Regions from separate parts of the Homo sapiens genome. Here region 2 is linked to region 1. The links are contacts of gene promoters, found by promoter capture Hi-C in blood cells and fetal thymus (Javierre and others, 2016). All regions are on one chromosome and are shown on one strand. The core of a region is centred on a gene start or on the middle of the fragment in contact, and the rest is flanking DNA. Distances in the headings are between cores, read along the strand shown.

What was found. Contacts are between HindIII fragments. The CHiCAGO score rates a contact against its expected background, and 5 or more counts as called.
Region 2: a contact is called between a fragment that was not itself captured here and the fragment with the promoter of TBC1D9-AS1 in region 1, in 1 of 17 cell types (total B cells). The highest score is 6.3, in total B cells.

Annotation. Positions count from the first base shown.
Region 1 is chr4:140,706,749-140,713,874 of GRCh38, forward strand. It overlaps TBC1D9-AS1 (TBC1D9 antisense RNA 1), which reads left to right and starts at 5,420. Exons shown (of 2, transcript XR_007058283.1): 1 at 5,420-5,535. The region is part of intron 1 of TBC1D9 (TBC1 domain family member 9); the gene reads right to left. The HindIII fragment of the contact is 8,622 bases long and covers 4,266-7,126 here.
Region 2 is chr4:140,368,675-140,375,877 of GRCh38, forward strand. It overlaps SCOC-AS1 (SCOC antisense RNA 1), which reads right to left and starts at 4,718. Exons shown (of 5, transcript NR_033939.1): 1 at 4,589-4,718; 2 at 636-676. SCOC (short coiled-coil protein) reads left to right here and starts at 4,972. Exons shown (of 4, transcript NM_001153484.2): 1 at 4,972-5,043. RefSeq lists enhancers at 4,655-5,156, 4,852-4,901 and a silencer at 5,062-5,261. The HindIII fragment of the contact is 4,110 bases long and covers 335-4,444 here.

The DNA.
Region 1 (7,126 bases), core at 4,170-6,669:
CTGCAAGGTACACTGCAGCTTATTTTTTTCAATCAATATGTTTGTAAAATTTATCCAGAATATACTTGTAAATCTGATTCATTCATTTTAAAATATTGTGCAATATTCCACTATATAAGTATATTACAACTTATCTGTTTTCCTAGTAAAGGACATTGGATCTATCCACACTTTTTGCTCTATTATGCAACTGTAATCGTATTCTGTTTGCATAAATCCTTAAGCACCTAAGCACATTTCTTTAGAATGGAATTGTCAGGTCCTAGGGTAAGTTCATTTCTAAACCTTATTAGATATTACAAAATTGCTCTCTAAAGTGCTCAAGAAAGTGTGAGAATACCTGTTTCTCCATAATATCTCCAATACTTAGTATTACCAGGTTTTTTTTTTTATTTTCACCAATCTCTAGAGTGAGAAATGGTACCTGTTTGTTAGTTAAATTTGCATTCCTCTGATTACTAATTAATTTTCTTGTTTATTGGCCATTCCAATTTCCTTTTTTGTGAGTTATTTGCCTTTCCCATTGTGGTGACATTTGCTAAGAGGTCCCATTAGACATTCAGAGTTCACCATCTAGAAGCTTCCATTTATATACATACTGGATTTCCATTCATTTCAGCAAATATTCACTGATCTCCCTAAAGCCAGAGATGCAGTATCCTTGGATTTACTTCTTTATATATCTTCTATACACATGCAAGACTTTTGGCTCAGTACTTCCTCTCCAGTGCATCACTTCCATGCCTGGCTTACTATCTGCGAAGATGGTAGGTTTCTGTAGGCCACCTGCTGCCACCTGTTCTTCTGGCTGCTGCTCCTTAGATGTAAGTGATACATTCTCTAGAAGTCTTAACACTTACATGATACTGGTCAGAAAGTAATTAAATGGAAACATTCAGAAGCAGCTGCTGACATACCTACAAACTCTCTAGCCATACCATAACTTTTACACTTCTTTAATGAGCCTTGTTTGTCTGCTTGTTACTTTTTAAAGCCTCCAAGGCTTTGTACAAGTGTTTCTCATCCTGGCAAACTTCTATTTCCCTCAATATCCAGGTCAAGGTCACCTAATGCATGTGTCCCTGTTTTCTCCGGCACGCTCCCAACCAATGTTCTCAACACTCAAGCCCCCCAAATCTCCTGGCAATTAACTGTTAGCTTTTTTGGGTTCTGCCAACCATCTTGACTTATATTACACTAAGGTAATTACTACATTGTTTCCTACTTCAAAAAAAAAAAGTATGGTTTCCTCCCACCAGACCCTGGGCAATTTAAGGACAAGCACTGCCTTATTTATCTTGGGAGTCTCAAAGCCTACAATAATGTTCAGCACATTATGCTGAATATTTATAATGTGGACCACAAAATTCTCAATTTGATGAACATTGGGAGAAACCAGAATTATTTTAAGAACTAATTCATCTTTGTACCATAGTTTCCAATATTATAAGTTCTAGCAAATCTGCCTTAAATAATTAAAATTGTCTAAGAATCTTAGAAAGGAGACAAAGACTTGAGAAGGCAGCTAAAAATCCCATTTCAAAGACTGTGAGGTAATAATGCAAACCAAACTCATATCTGAAACTGCTTACCTTGGGAAATCAATTTCTCCAATTTCAGAAGTAATTTGTTACTTTTTAATCAGTATTGAAATTTATCTGGAATTAAGTTAGATCAAAAGCAGAAATATTCAGGGAAAAGACAAGTCTCTATTCTCCTACTTTGGCAATTGTCAATAAACAAGAAAATTCACAGATTTAATTAACCAATTGAAACCCTTGTGCCCAACACACAGACTGGTAAATACGGTTTGCACACCATACTGGCCAGGGGACCAAGGGAGGGATTAGGAAAATGGTTCTGTGTGCAGGTGTGAAGAATGCTGAAATGGCCAGGTGAGGGTCAGCTCCATAATTATAAATGCGCCAGAGTTCCTAGAGGCACCATAGCCAATGTGAAGGTACATGTGAGCTAATGTTGGCCAGCCACATTATGTATGAAAGGGGAATACAGGTGGTGGCTGTTCTATGGGTAAGGAGGTGGGGGATGTGGGAGGTTTGTCAGGGAAGGTGGCTGGGACAGGAGATGGGTACAATGTATTGTTCTGTTCCGTGACCTCAAAGAGTATTATATTATTCTCAGGCGCAGGTATTATTGGCAATAGGGGAAAGAGATTAGAAGGGCATGGATAGACATGTAACCAATCCCAATACTTGGATACTACCTTCAGTGTCGAATGGTGGGAGCAATTTTGTTTTCATAAGTATCATACATTCTTCCACTCTCCAGCATCTCTAGATAAAAATGGTTCTCAACAAGCCTACTATGGAATGTTATTGTTTTAAACGGCCATCCACAACTCTTTCCTCTCAATTTCAATAGCTGCTTCTCATAACCCCATTCTAGCTGCCCCTGTATCATGGCTGCCTTCAAGGATGACACCGTTACCTGTGGGGAAGGAACCAGCCTTATCTCTCTCTCTCTCTCTCTCTCTCTCTCTCACACACACACACACACACACACACACACACACACACACACCCCAATTCATCATTGTTCGTCAAAAGATGAATTAAGAAGTCTAAGAAATACACTGTTGACTCAATTAGGAGAGTGCTTCTCAAACATTGTGGCTAAGAATCAGTTTTGCCAACTGGGGGACGGGGCTGAAAAAAATCAGTTTTTCTTTGTTTTTTAGTTTTCAATCTGTTACAGACTGACACTTTTGTAAAAATATGATGCATATGGAATACTAAAAAAAAAAAAGACATAAAAAATACAAGCTTCCAATTTTTTGATTAAATTTAACAGACAATTGTTCTAGGTTCCTAAATGCTTAATCTCAATATCTGTTCTTAGCTGGAGGCAGACTGGTTAACAGTTTAAAATTTGGTACTTTAAGTCAGCAGTCCCCAACCTTTTGGCACCAGGGACTGGTTTCATGGAAGACAATTTTTCCATGGACCAGAGTTGGGGGTGGGGTGGTCTGGGGATGGTTTGAGGATGAAACTGTTCCACCTCAGATCATCAGGCATTAGATTGTCTTAAGGAGCTTGCAACCTAGATCCCTTGCATGTGCAGTTCGCAATAGGGTTCTCGTGCCTGTAAGAACCTAATGCTGCAGTTGATTTGAAACGAGGTGGAGCTCAAATGCTCCCTCACCTGCCACTCACCTCCTGCTGTGCAGCCCAGTTCCTAACAGGCCACGGACTGACAGGTACTTGTCTGCAGCCTGACAGTCAGGAACCCCTGCTTTAAACAGTATTAAATTAGGGGAGGAGAGGCTCTAGGGCAGTCATGTTCTTGGGACTGTGTTTCTTAGAATCATTTATATAGCTTTACAGAGCACACGCAATTCTATAACTCTCATTTGGGAAAAAATGACTGTTTTCACAATGCAAACCAATATAAAACTCAACAAACTAACATAAAACTCAACATATGTGAATGAAGGAGGCATGAGGGTTTTGTTGTATGTTTATCCCGAGGGGCACTGGTTAAAAAGTGCTGGGAATATGAACTAGTGTGTTAGGTGATCCCCGAGAGACCCCTGCCTCATTTCTTACAAAGAGGGGAGTGAGCTAAAGGGAGAAGAATGACAAAGCTAAGAGAGGTGGAGCGCCCACTCTGTAGAATTTTAAGCAGTATTCTGGATCACAGGGTCTTTGATATACATGTTCATATAAGTACTCACAAAGTAAATGCTCAACAAGAGAGAGAGAAGCCGTGACTTTCATATTTTCCACCTCAAAAGATAAAACACAGGCTGGGTTATGACTAAACAAACAGAGCAGAAAACTAAAATCTGAAGAGCATTTTATCTGTATCCAATTAGTATGTGCTGCTCAAATCTCCTAAGCACCCTCAAAAGGCCATGTCTTCCAGGAGCTGTTCCATTTCCCCTGCAAGCCCATCTCTTAAAGTCACAAGCACCTGCTCCTGCATAAAGTGAGAACAGTTGGAATGGATTTTTCCTTCTCCTGGGTGGGGGGGTGGTCTGAGGAAGGAATGATTCAAATACTTTATTACTGCAATACCTTGCTCTACACCCTAATCAGGACCAACTACATAATCTGTGGGGCCCAGTGCAAAAAGAATATTCAGGACCCCTTGTTAAAAAATTCTTCAGAATTTCAAGGCAGCAGCAGTAGAATATTAAGCCAAGCCCAGCGCTTTTCTAAGTGTAGGTTCCTGTGTACAAGCATACCTAGGAAGCTGGCCTTGAAACCCCAGCAGTGTGTTGGCTCATTCTTTCCCCACGAACAAGCTTGCTGCTTTCAGACTTTGTGCAGGACTCAAATCTGCTCTGATACGGACCAGTGAGGACAATGTGATTGAAGTTATTAAAAAATTACGCCAAGCCTTGTGTGATCTAATTCCTCAAAGAAGCCCCTCAAAAGGCGGGGGCTTAATTTAATTTCCCCTCAAGTCCCGTAATAGGAAAGTGGATGCTATTGTCTTAGATTTACAGCTGCTTCTGTGTGCAACAGGAAGTTATATTGATTCTAATCTTGGCTGTAGAGGCGGGTCTGAAAACCTAAAACTCAAAGGTCAAGGTCAGCCAAGGTCAACCTTGAGAGGTAGGAAGGAGGGGCCTTTTTGGTGTGGTAGGAAGAGTTCATCGCTATGAAGCCCACCTCTGTTTCTAAGAGATTAGCTATATCAATCCCCTCCTGGATACCTGGGGGCAATACCCCTCAGATCCCTTCTCTCAGGAAGGCCACATTTGCAGAAGCCACTCACTGTCCTGAGATGTCAACCCTTCTTCTAATTCATGTATCCTCTTACGTAATTCAACTGCCAATAATTGAGAGCATCGATAAGCTGAAGAACAACTTGGCAACGAAATAATATGAAATAGAAATAATTCTGAATTCAAAATTACATTTAGGTAATGACCTACAATGTCTAAATAAATTATAGTACATTGATATAATATGTAGACATTTAAAATCATACCTTCAAGTAATTATTTCATGACATGGTGAAATGCACCTAGCATATGAAAAACAGCACAAAACTAATTACTATTCTGTATGATCCCAATTTGTCTAAAAAAGTATAATATAACCTATATTACAAATTACAATACATGTATTAATTTTAAAGAATACAAAACTAAATATGAATATTAACATTAGTAGGTGAGATGACAATTCTGCTATTTTATGGTCTTCTGTGTTTTCAAAAATATCTCAAATGTACATTCAATACATTTATGATGAGAAAACAAAAAATATATAATTACCTCCAACCTTTTATTTTGGGCTTTTTTTACTCAAAGAGAGCTCATGCCATCAAGCAAACAGACAGTTACCATGGTTATACTAACGCTGCTACTTCACAACAGATAACCACAGGTTAGAAATCTTGTTGCTAGGTTGCAACATGCTAGCTAAGAGTCCATATCTAAATGAGAGGCTCCCTCAAAAACACACTTCCTTGGAGAGGGACCTGGCGTTTACATTTTAGAAATTTTTTTTTGAAGTTCATTTTTTCCCTCTGGTATACGGAGTTCATCAATGCTACAAACTGGTACGTATTCATACACACTGAATCACATTCCTTACTCCAGTTGCAGGCACTTGATGTTTAATAACTAGTTTATCTCAAGTCAGGAAGTTTACAGTGTCAAAATGAATCAAATTGATTTTACCATTTTTATCAAGTATTCTCTGAATATGCTCTTTAAAAAAAAAGAATATATATATATGCCAGGTGCGGTGGCTCAGGCCTGTAATCCCAGCACTTTGGGAGGCCCAGGCGGGCAAATCACGAGGTCAAGAGTTCGAGACCAGCCTAGCCAACATGGTGAAAGCCCATCTCTACTAAAAATACAAAAAATTAGCTAGGCGTAGTGGCGGGCGCCTGTTGTCCCAGCTACTCAGGAGGCTGAGGCAGGAGAATTGCTTGAACCCGGGAGGCGGAGGTTGCAGTGAAGCCGAGATCACGCCATTGTACTCCAGCCCGGGCAAGAGAGTGAGACTCCATCTCAAAAAAATAGATAGATAGATAGATAGATAGATAGATAGATAGATAAATGGGATCCTGCTCTGTTGCCCATGCTGGAATGCAGTGGCATGATTGTTTCCGGAACAAACTGAGGGTCGGGCTGCTATTTCTCATGGCCTAATAACGAGATGCAAATGAACTGGGGAGGAAGAAAGTTTTTATTTCTGCAACCGGTTACAGGGAGAAGGCCTGGAAATTATCACCAGACCAACTCAAAATTACAGTTTTCCAGAGCTTATATACCTTCTAAGCTATATGTCTACATGTAAGTGTGCATTCATCTAAAGACATAGGTGATTAACTTCTTTTAATCTATAACTAAGGTCTGAGTCTTGAGGTTAATTTTTAAATTTTTTTATAGAAATGGGGGTCTCATTACGTTGCCCAGGCTGGTCTACAACTCCTGGGCTCAAGGGATCCTCCCACTTTGGCCTCCCAAAGCACTGGGATTACAGGTGTGAGCCGCCTCATGGGCCTTCCACTGAGTATTCATTAAATCTCTAAGTACCCATGGTGTTGCCTTCAGCTACATATAAGCAAGACAAAGAAAAAAGCCCAGGAGACCAGCCACTCTGTGCTTATATTAACAAAGGAAATGCCAGGAAAGATGCATATTAAACTTAATAATGGTTACCTCTTGGGAATGAGATTGATATGGCAGAAATCAGAAACATTTTTTATTATTTGAAATATATTTTTAGGCCAGGTACAGTGGACTGTAATCCCAGGACTTTGGGAGGCCAAGGTGGGAAGACCACTTGAGCCCAGGAGTCTGAGACAGCCTGGGCAATAATTAAGACTTTGTCTCTACAAAAAAAATATTAAAAATTAAGCAAGGTGTAGTGGTGCATGCCTGTAGTTCCAGCTACTTGGGAGACTGAGGCAGGAGGATCACTTGAGCCCAGGAGGTAGAGGGTGCAGTGAGTTAAGACCACACCCTGCACTTCAGCCTGGGAGACAGAGTGAGACCCTATCTCTGAAAAAGAATTAAAAAAAAAAAACTATATTTTTTAAAGTAATTTCTATACTATTGGAACTATACACTATAAAACATTGTACTTTTATAATTTGTACAATGTACATGTATTATAATCAAATAATGAACCACTAGGTT
Region 2 (7,203 bases), core at 1,140-3,639, 340 kb before region 1:
AGGTAAGAGCGAGGGTATAGTAATCTAAGTTGCAGGAGAAAAGGCGCAGGTAGGGGAATGGTGAATGATGCATTCATCTTGTGTGCAGCAAATCAGCACTTTACATGAAATAGGGTGAACATAGAGTAGCTACCTATGGAGATATTTAACCTTTTATCTGTAGCTATCTGCTTAGGAACAGAAGAAAAGGCAGCTTCTTGCATGACTCAGCTTTCAGCTTATTTTTTTCCTTCTGGCAGAGTGAACTGGAGTCTCACGTTTTTATTCTCCTTTCACAGCACCGAGACTGCACAGAATCATTCCTAATTATTTCCATTTTTATGATAAAGTCCAAAGCTTGATTCCATAAAGACCTTGAAATCCTTTGGAATTCTTGCTTGAAAAAACTCTAAAAGTACATTGGTAATTTCTTACATTCCCTCTACCTATTGAACAAATAAATGAAAATGACTCATCAAATTTATTTACTTTTGGTTATTATCAGAAATTATAATCTTGAGAAAGTATACATGAACACCTTAATTTACCAAATAGCTATATGGTATACTGTTGAGTATAGTATACTAGGCTGTAGTATACAATTACGTCTAGTTTTGAAATCAAGTTTTAACAAATAGGTTATATTCTTTACTCACCAAATTCAGAACAGCATTCATTCTCCAATGAATTCAATAACCTTTCAAGTGAAAAAAATGAGTAAAAAAGAAAATGTGAGTTCTTATTTAGGAATGAGATGGAACATGTTCTGCAAATTAATGAGCTTAAAGCATCAGACAACACACCTGGTTATACTTGAAAGTTATCAAAAATGCTTCCATTTAGCATATTTCACCTTAAATATCCACAGTACGTTTAGAACCCTCTAATTAAGACAAAATAGCAGCTTGTATGTGCACAATGAGAGTGTGCCAGACTGGAACATCAAAAAGATATTGGAAGTTCTCTATTTCATTATTTATCATTTCTTCCCCCACATAATATATTGCCTTGTACAGTTTTCAATTAGGACTTCCCCCATTCTCTAGGAAAAAAAATGTAATTTTGTGCCTTTATTTAGATGAACTATATTATCAATATTCACATAGTCCAGGTCGCATGAATGTTCACCTTATAATCAAATATTTCTATGCAATCTCAGTGGTTTCTATTTGTACTTATAGCCTTTCCTTATTCAGAAGGGGGATTTTTTTTTTTTTTTTTTTTTTTTTTTTTTTTTTTTTTTAGATGGAGTTTCGCTCTTGTTGTCCAGGTTGGAGTGCAATGGCGCCATCTCAGCTCACTACAACCTCCACCTCCTGGGTTCAAGCAGTTCTCCTGCTTCAGCCTCCCAAGTCTGAAAGCTGAAAATAAGCTGAAAGCTGAGTCATGCAAGAGCTGCCTTTTTATGTTTACATTTTAGTTTAAAATTACTTTCTAATTTTTTTGTGTGTGACTTCCCCTGTGACCCATGGTTTGTTTAGAAGTACATAGTTTGATTTCCAACTATTTGGAGATTTACAAATATCTTTCTGTTACTGATTTCTAGTTTAATTTGTGGGTAGAGACAATAATTTTTACTGTTTCAATTATTTTAAATTTGCTGAGATTTGTTTGATGATACACAGTGGAGTCTATTTTGATGAATTTTCCAAGTGCATTGGAAAAGAAAGCATGTTCTTCAGTTATTGGGTGCAATGTTCTACAAATGTCCATTAGGTCAAGTTGGCTGATAGGATTGTTCAGGTCTTCTATATCAATAGTTCAGAAATTTGCCAGCCTTTTTTCAAAATCACCTTCGTAACTTTCAAAAATACTAATGCCTGTATCTCACTCCTTAAGACTGTAATTTATTCTGAGGTGTGGTCTGTTCACTAGAATAATTAAAAGATTCCCAGGTGATTCTAATATACTGAAAAGTTTGGGACCTGAGTTCTGTATACTTAAATTATCTGTATAGTTGTTTTACAAATTGCAGAGCAGGGAGTAATGAACTGTTTGAATTCAATTAATTTTTGATTCATTTCTATTTTGTAGCACTGTGGTTAGGATTTTGTGTCTTCTTGATGAATATGCCCCTTTATCTAATTGTTTTAATGTTATTTTACCTAATTATTAGTGAAGGTAAACATTTTTTAAAAACCTTTCTGGCCGTTCAGTTTTCCTCTTCTGTAAGTGGCCTACTTACGTTATTTGCATATATTTATCTTGAGTTGTCTTTTTCTTACTGATTTGTCTGAATTCTTTTTTTTTTTTTTGAGACGGAGTCTCACCCTGTCGCCCAGGCTGGAGTGCAGTGGCACCATGTCACTGCAAGCTCTGCCTCCTGGGTTCATGCCACTCTCCTGCCTCAGCCTCCCGAGTAGCTGGGACTACAGGCGCCCGCCACCACGCCCAGCTAATTTTTTGTATTTTTAGTAGAGACGGGGTTTCACCGTGTTAGCCAGGATGGTCTCAATCTCCTGACCTCGTGATCCACCCGCCTCGACCTCCCAAAGTGCTGGGATTACAGCCGTGAGCCACCGCGCCTGGCCTGAATTCTTTATATTTTGAGAGTTTTACTATATTCTGCCAACCTGTGGCTTGTTTTTTAACTTGATTAGAGATGGCTTCTCTTCTGTTTGTAAAACTTCCAAATTTTAAAATAATCAATATTTTACATCTTTCCTTAATGAATCGTGCTGTTTCTTCCCTACGGCGATATACAGACATACGCTTTTCTTCTAAAAGTTTAGAGTTTTGTTTGTCACATTTTGGATCATTATTTCATTTGGAATTTAGTTTTATTTCTGTCGTGGTATCAGGATTGAATTTCTTATTTTTATATAAATAGCCAATTTAACTAGAACCACCATAACTTGTGTTTTCTATATCCCACGAACAGTTACTATACTAATTTACACTCCCAACAGTAATGAATAATAGTTTTTTCCCCACAACCTTAGAAACAGTTATTCCTCACCAGACATCTTTATTGTATACCAACTTCCAGGTACCCTTTTTTTCCTAATTTTCTTTTTGTCTATTCTTGTGTCAATACCACTTTTTTAAAAGTTGCTTTAAAATAGAATTACCATATGATTCAGCACAAATTAACACACACTTCTGGGTGTATATCCAAAAGAACTGAAAAGAGGGTCTCAAAGAGACATTTGCACACCCATGTCCATAGCAGTATTATTCACAATAGCCAAAAGGAGGAAGCAACCTAAGCGTCCACTGATAGATGAATAAACAAAATGTGGCATAATACACATAATAAATGATATATAGAACTATTCAGCCTTAAAAAGGAAGTTCTGCAATATGCTATAACATGGATGAACTCTGAGGCATTATGCTAAATGAAATAAGCCAGTCATAAAAGGGCAAATTCTGTATTATTCCACTTAGGTGAGGTACCTAGAGTAGTCAAACTGATAAACACAAAGTAAGATGATTACTGCCAGAGGATGAGGGGAATAGGAAATGGAGAGTTGCTCTTTAATAGGTATACAGTTTTAGTTTGGCAAGATGAAAAGAGAGATTGGTTCTGGAGATTGGTTGGAGAACAATGTGGAATGTATCTTATACTACTGAAGTTAAAAATGGTTAAGATGGTAAATTTTATTCTATGTATATTTCACTACAATTAAAAATATTTAAAAATACTGTTCTAGCAAAAACAAAAGGTTGCTTTTAATAGTTTCTCTTGATCTTTGGTGTCCTGCAATTTCACCGTTGCATAGAATTCTTATATTAATCCTGCTCAAGAATAAGTACTTCTTGAATCTGAAAATTCAAATATTCCACAATCTTGGAAAATTCTTAGTTATTACTCTTTGAATACTGCCTGCATCCATTCTCTCTAGTCTCTCTTTTTTGGCACTCCTATTAGATTTATGTTGGATTTTTTTTCATTTATTTAGCTCCTACATTGCATTCTAGTAAATTTCCTCAAACTGAATATTGCAGTCGCAGCCAAATGCATAGTTCTCAAAACACTGAATAGAAGATATTTTTATATAGCTCTTAAAATGATTAAGGCGATGTGTCAGCAAACTGTGCCAGAAGTAAAAAGTCAAGAAACAGGGAGACATAAGGCTTGTCTCTACAGCTTAGGAGGCTGTGCCAAAGCCAAAATAATAATGTATTGCTGTGGATGTCTACCTTGTACTCAACGAATATTAAAGCAGGATGCCGCTTTGTGTCAAGTACTAGATTACGATGAACGGTGTCACGAAGAACACTCCACTCTTGATACCGTATATGTGACCTTGAGCAAGAAATGTGTTCACGCTCAGGCTTCAGTTCCTTTCTGTGGGTTGCTGTGAGGCTCCACAGGGGTAAGGTAAGCACAAGTGCTATGCCTCAGTACCACTAGGGTATTTTCTCAATTCTAAAATATTAAATGGCCACGCACTACAGATTTAATAATAGTTTCGGAGGAGGGGCGTGAGGAGAGGAACATTCCACTAGCTCAACTATAAGCTTTCCGATTTCGGAAATAAGAAAAATATGAAAAAGTCTGCTTTTAGAATTAAGGAACGACGGTGTCGCGTTGACTTTCTCTGCTTGGTTCGCAAACGCTCTTTTCTCGAACTTGAATGACTTCTCTGTCGCTCATACCAACCTCTTTCCTGAATGACTTCTCTGTCGCTCATACCAGCCTCTTTCCTGATTTTCCACACTGGGATTCTCACTCCAATTCTCAGGTTTCCTGATAGACCTGATGAGCCGCTTCACCAGCGCCGCTTAGCTTCGCTTCTTTACTGTCATTGGCTGTCGCTGTTCCAGGTCCCGCCCACAGCGACCTCAATCCTGATTGGATGTCAGTGTCCTTTTGTTATGGCAAAGGTGGATCCCGGTGCTTTGAGATTGGACGACTGGGGTGAGGCGGGCAGCTAATGCGCAGGCGTGTATTCTCGAGTCAGGATTGGCGGGCGAGCGGCTGGGACGGGATGGGATTCTTCTCACGGCGCACGTTCTGTGGGCGGAGTGGGCGGAGCTGCCGGGGTCAGTTGGTCCAAGTGTCCCGGCCTGAGGTGTCGGCCGGATCCCTCCTTCTCCCGGCGCCTCAAGCGGAAGGTGAGGGCCGTCCCGGGCAGCGGAGGGCCTGGCCCCAGGCGACTAGAGCTGCATCCTCAGTACCTCCGAGGGCCTGGAGGGCGGGGCGGGCTGGACGCGGCCCTGCGCACCGGGGGCCCGGGAGGAGCGGTCTCGGGCCTGGGCATTTGGTGGGCGGCGGAGGCCTGGCTCCCGGCAGAACCCTTGCGCGACCTCTTTTTCTCCTGTTTTCGTTGTCAGGCCCAGGCGTTCTTTGGGAGAGGGACCTCTCGCGGTCCCTGACGCAGACATCGTGTAGCTTTCTCCCCGCAGCTCCTGGGTCGGGAGCCGCTTTGCAGCTCTCGGCTCTGGAATTGGACTGCGGGAGGGGCGTTTGGGTGGAATGGGACCTGGCACGCCTGGACCTTCCCGTGGCTGCTCTGCGAGAGCCTGAGAGATGGGAGGGGAGGCTGAGGTGGGGAGGGAGCCTAGAGAGCCGTAAAATAAGGATTGGACCATTTTTCCAGGCGGCGAAAGCGGCACCTGGGTTTGTTTCCTGATCGTCTTCTCCCCCAGAGTCCTGCTGAACAAGTTTTGGGAAGAAAGGTTTGGAAAGGAGAAAGAGGATACATTCCTGAAAGGCAGGGCTTCTGTTATACAGTGTGTCAACCTCACACTATTACGCAACAATAAGGACAGATGCCATTCCAGGTTGCCAACACGTTTTCTATGCCCGAGGACCCAAAGCTGTGCCCATGTATTCTGGTACCTCTATTCCTGATTAAAATCAGTGTAGCTAGCCATTCTCTGAGAGTATAGCTTCCATTTAAATCCTCATTTGGCCAAACAGTTCCTTGATCTTGTGGAATTTGAAACTGGATTTATTTAACCAGGACAAGTCAAAGCAGAACTTGAACAGATCTGAACAGACATTATATTGAAGTTCCGTAGCTTGAAGGGAATGGAGTTTATTTTCAGTTGCTTAGTAAAGATTCCAGAGGAGTTTGACATCAGTGGTAGCAAAATGTTTGGCAAACTTAAGATTAGGGCCATATTAAAGTTTTTTCCATTGCATAATGGAAAAAGCATGGACTGTGAAGTTAGACCTGGGTTCAAATTCTTGGTAGAGACATTGGCTGTGAAACCTCTGAAACAGCTTTTCTGAAAGATATATAGACTTTCTGAAATTTAGTGTCCATATCTGTAAATTGCAGTTTCCTTCTGTTGATTTGATGAAATAACATATGCAAAGCATTTAGCACATTAATGCACGAAGACATTATTTTAGCAGTCTTAGTAGTTCTCCAGTATGACAGATGGTGAAATCAATTTTAGATGCAGAAAAGTTGAGTGGCTGAAGATGGACGGGTATTAGGAAAAAGTCTCAAAATCTGCAGGCTCAGATGTGACAATAGTTGTGGTGGAATGGTGGAAAAAACACTGGGCATTTGTTGTAGTCTTGGCCCTGTTGCTAACTACTTCTGTGGTCTTCAGTAAGCCATTGTCATCTTTGGCCTTGATTTTGTAAAATGAAGCAGCTGGACCAGATGGTTTTCTTTAAATTCTTTCTGTTGCCCAAATTAGAGCTAAAAGGTAGAGAAGACGATAGCAGACATTTATTGAATACCTACTATGTACTAGGTACTGTTGCCAACACATTGTATCTATCCACTCATTCTCACAACAAACCCATGAGATACGTACGGTTATTATCCACATTTTACAAATGAGGAAACTTAAGGCCGAGGTGTTAACCTTGCCCAGGGTTCCAGAGCTTATAAATTGCAGAGCTAGGATTTGAATCCAGGTAATCTGAATCCATATTGTTAATCATTGTGCCAGGCTGCCTCTTGAGGAGAGTGATATTGTGGATATTGTACACTATTAGAGATAACTGTAAAATAAGATAGGGGCATATTTGGTAAGATGATCGTCTTTGGTCACAGGTGTGTGTGCATGGCAAAAATTATTTAATTAAATGAATCTTGTCCCAATGTTTGCCACATTTCCTGGTTTGTATTCTCTCTATGCGTTCTGCCTCCTGGACTTAAATAATCAAAAAAGTAATTCTAGATTCCCTTCCACTAACCAAGGCTAGATACCCGAATTTACTGTGTTTTTTGAGAAACCTTTGAAAGGTCTGACCTAGCCATACATCAGAGCTGAAGAATCTCAGCGAACCATGTCCATTTCTGGGGTAAG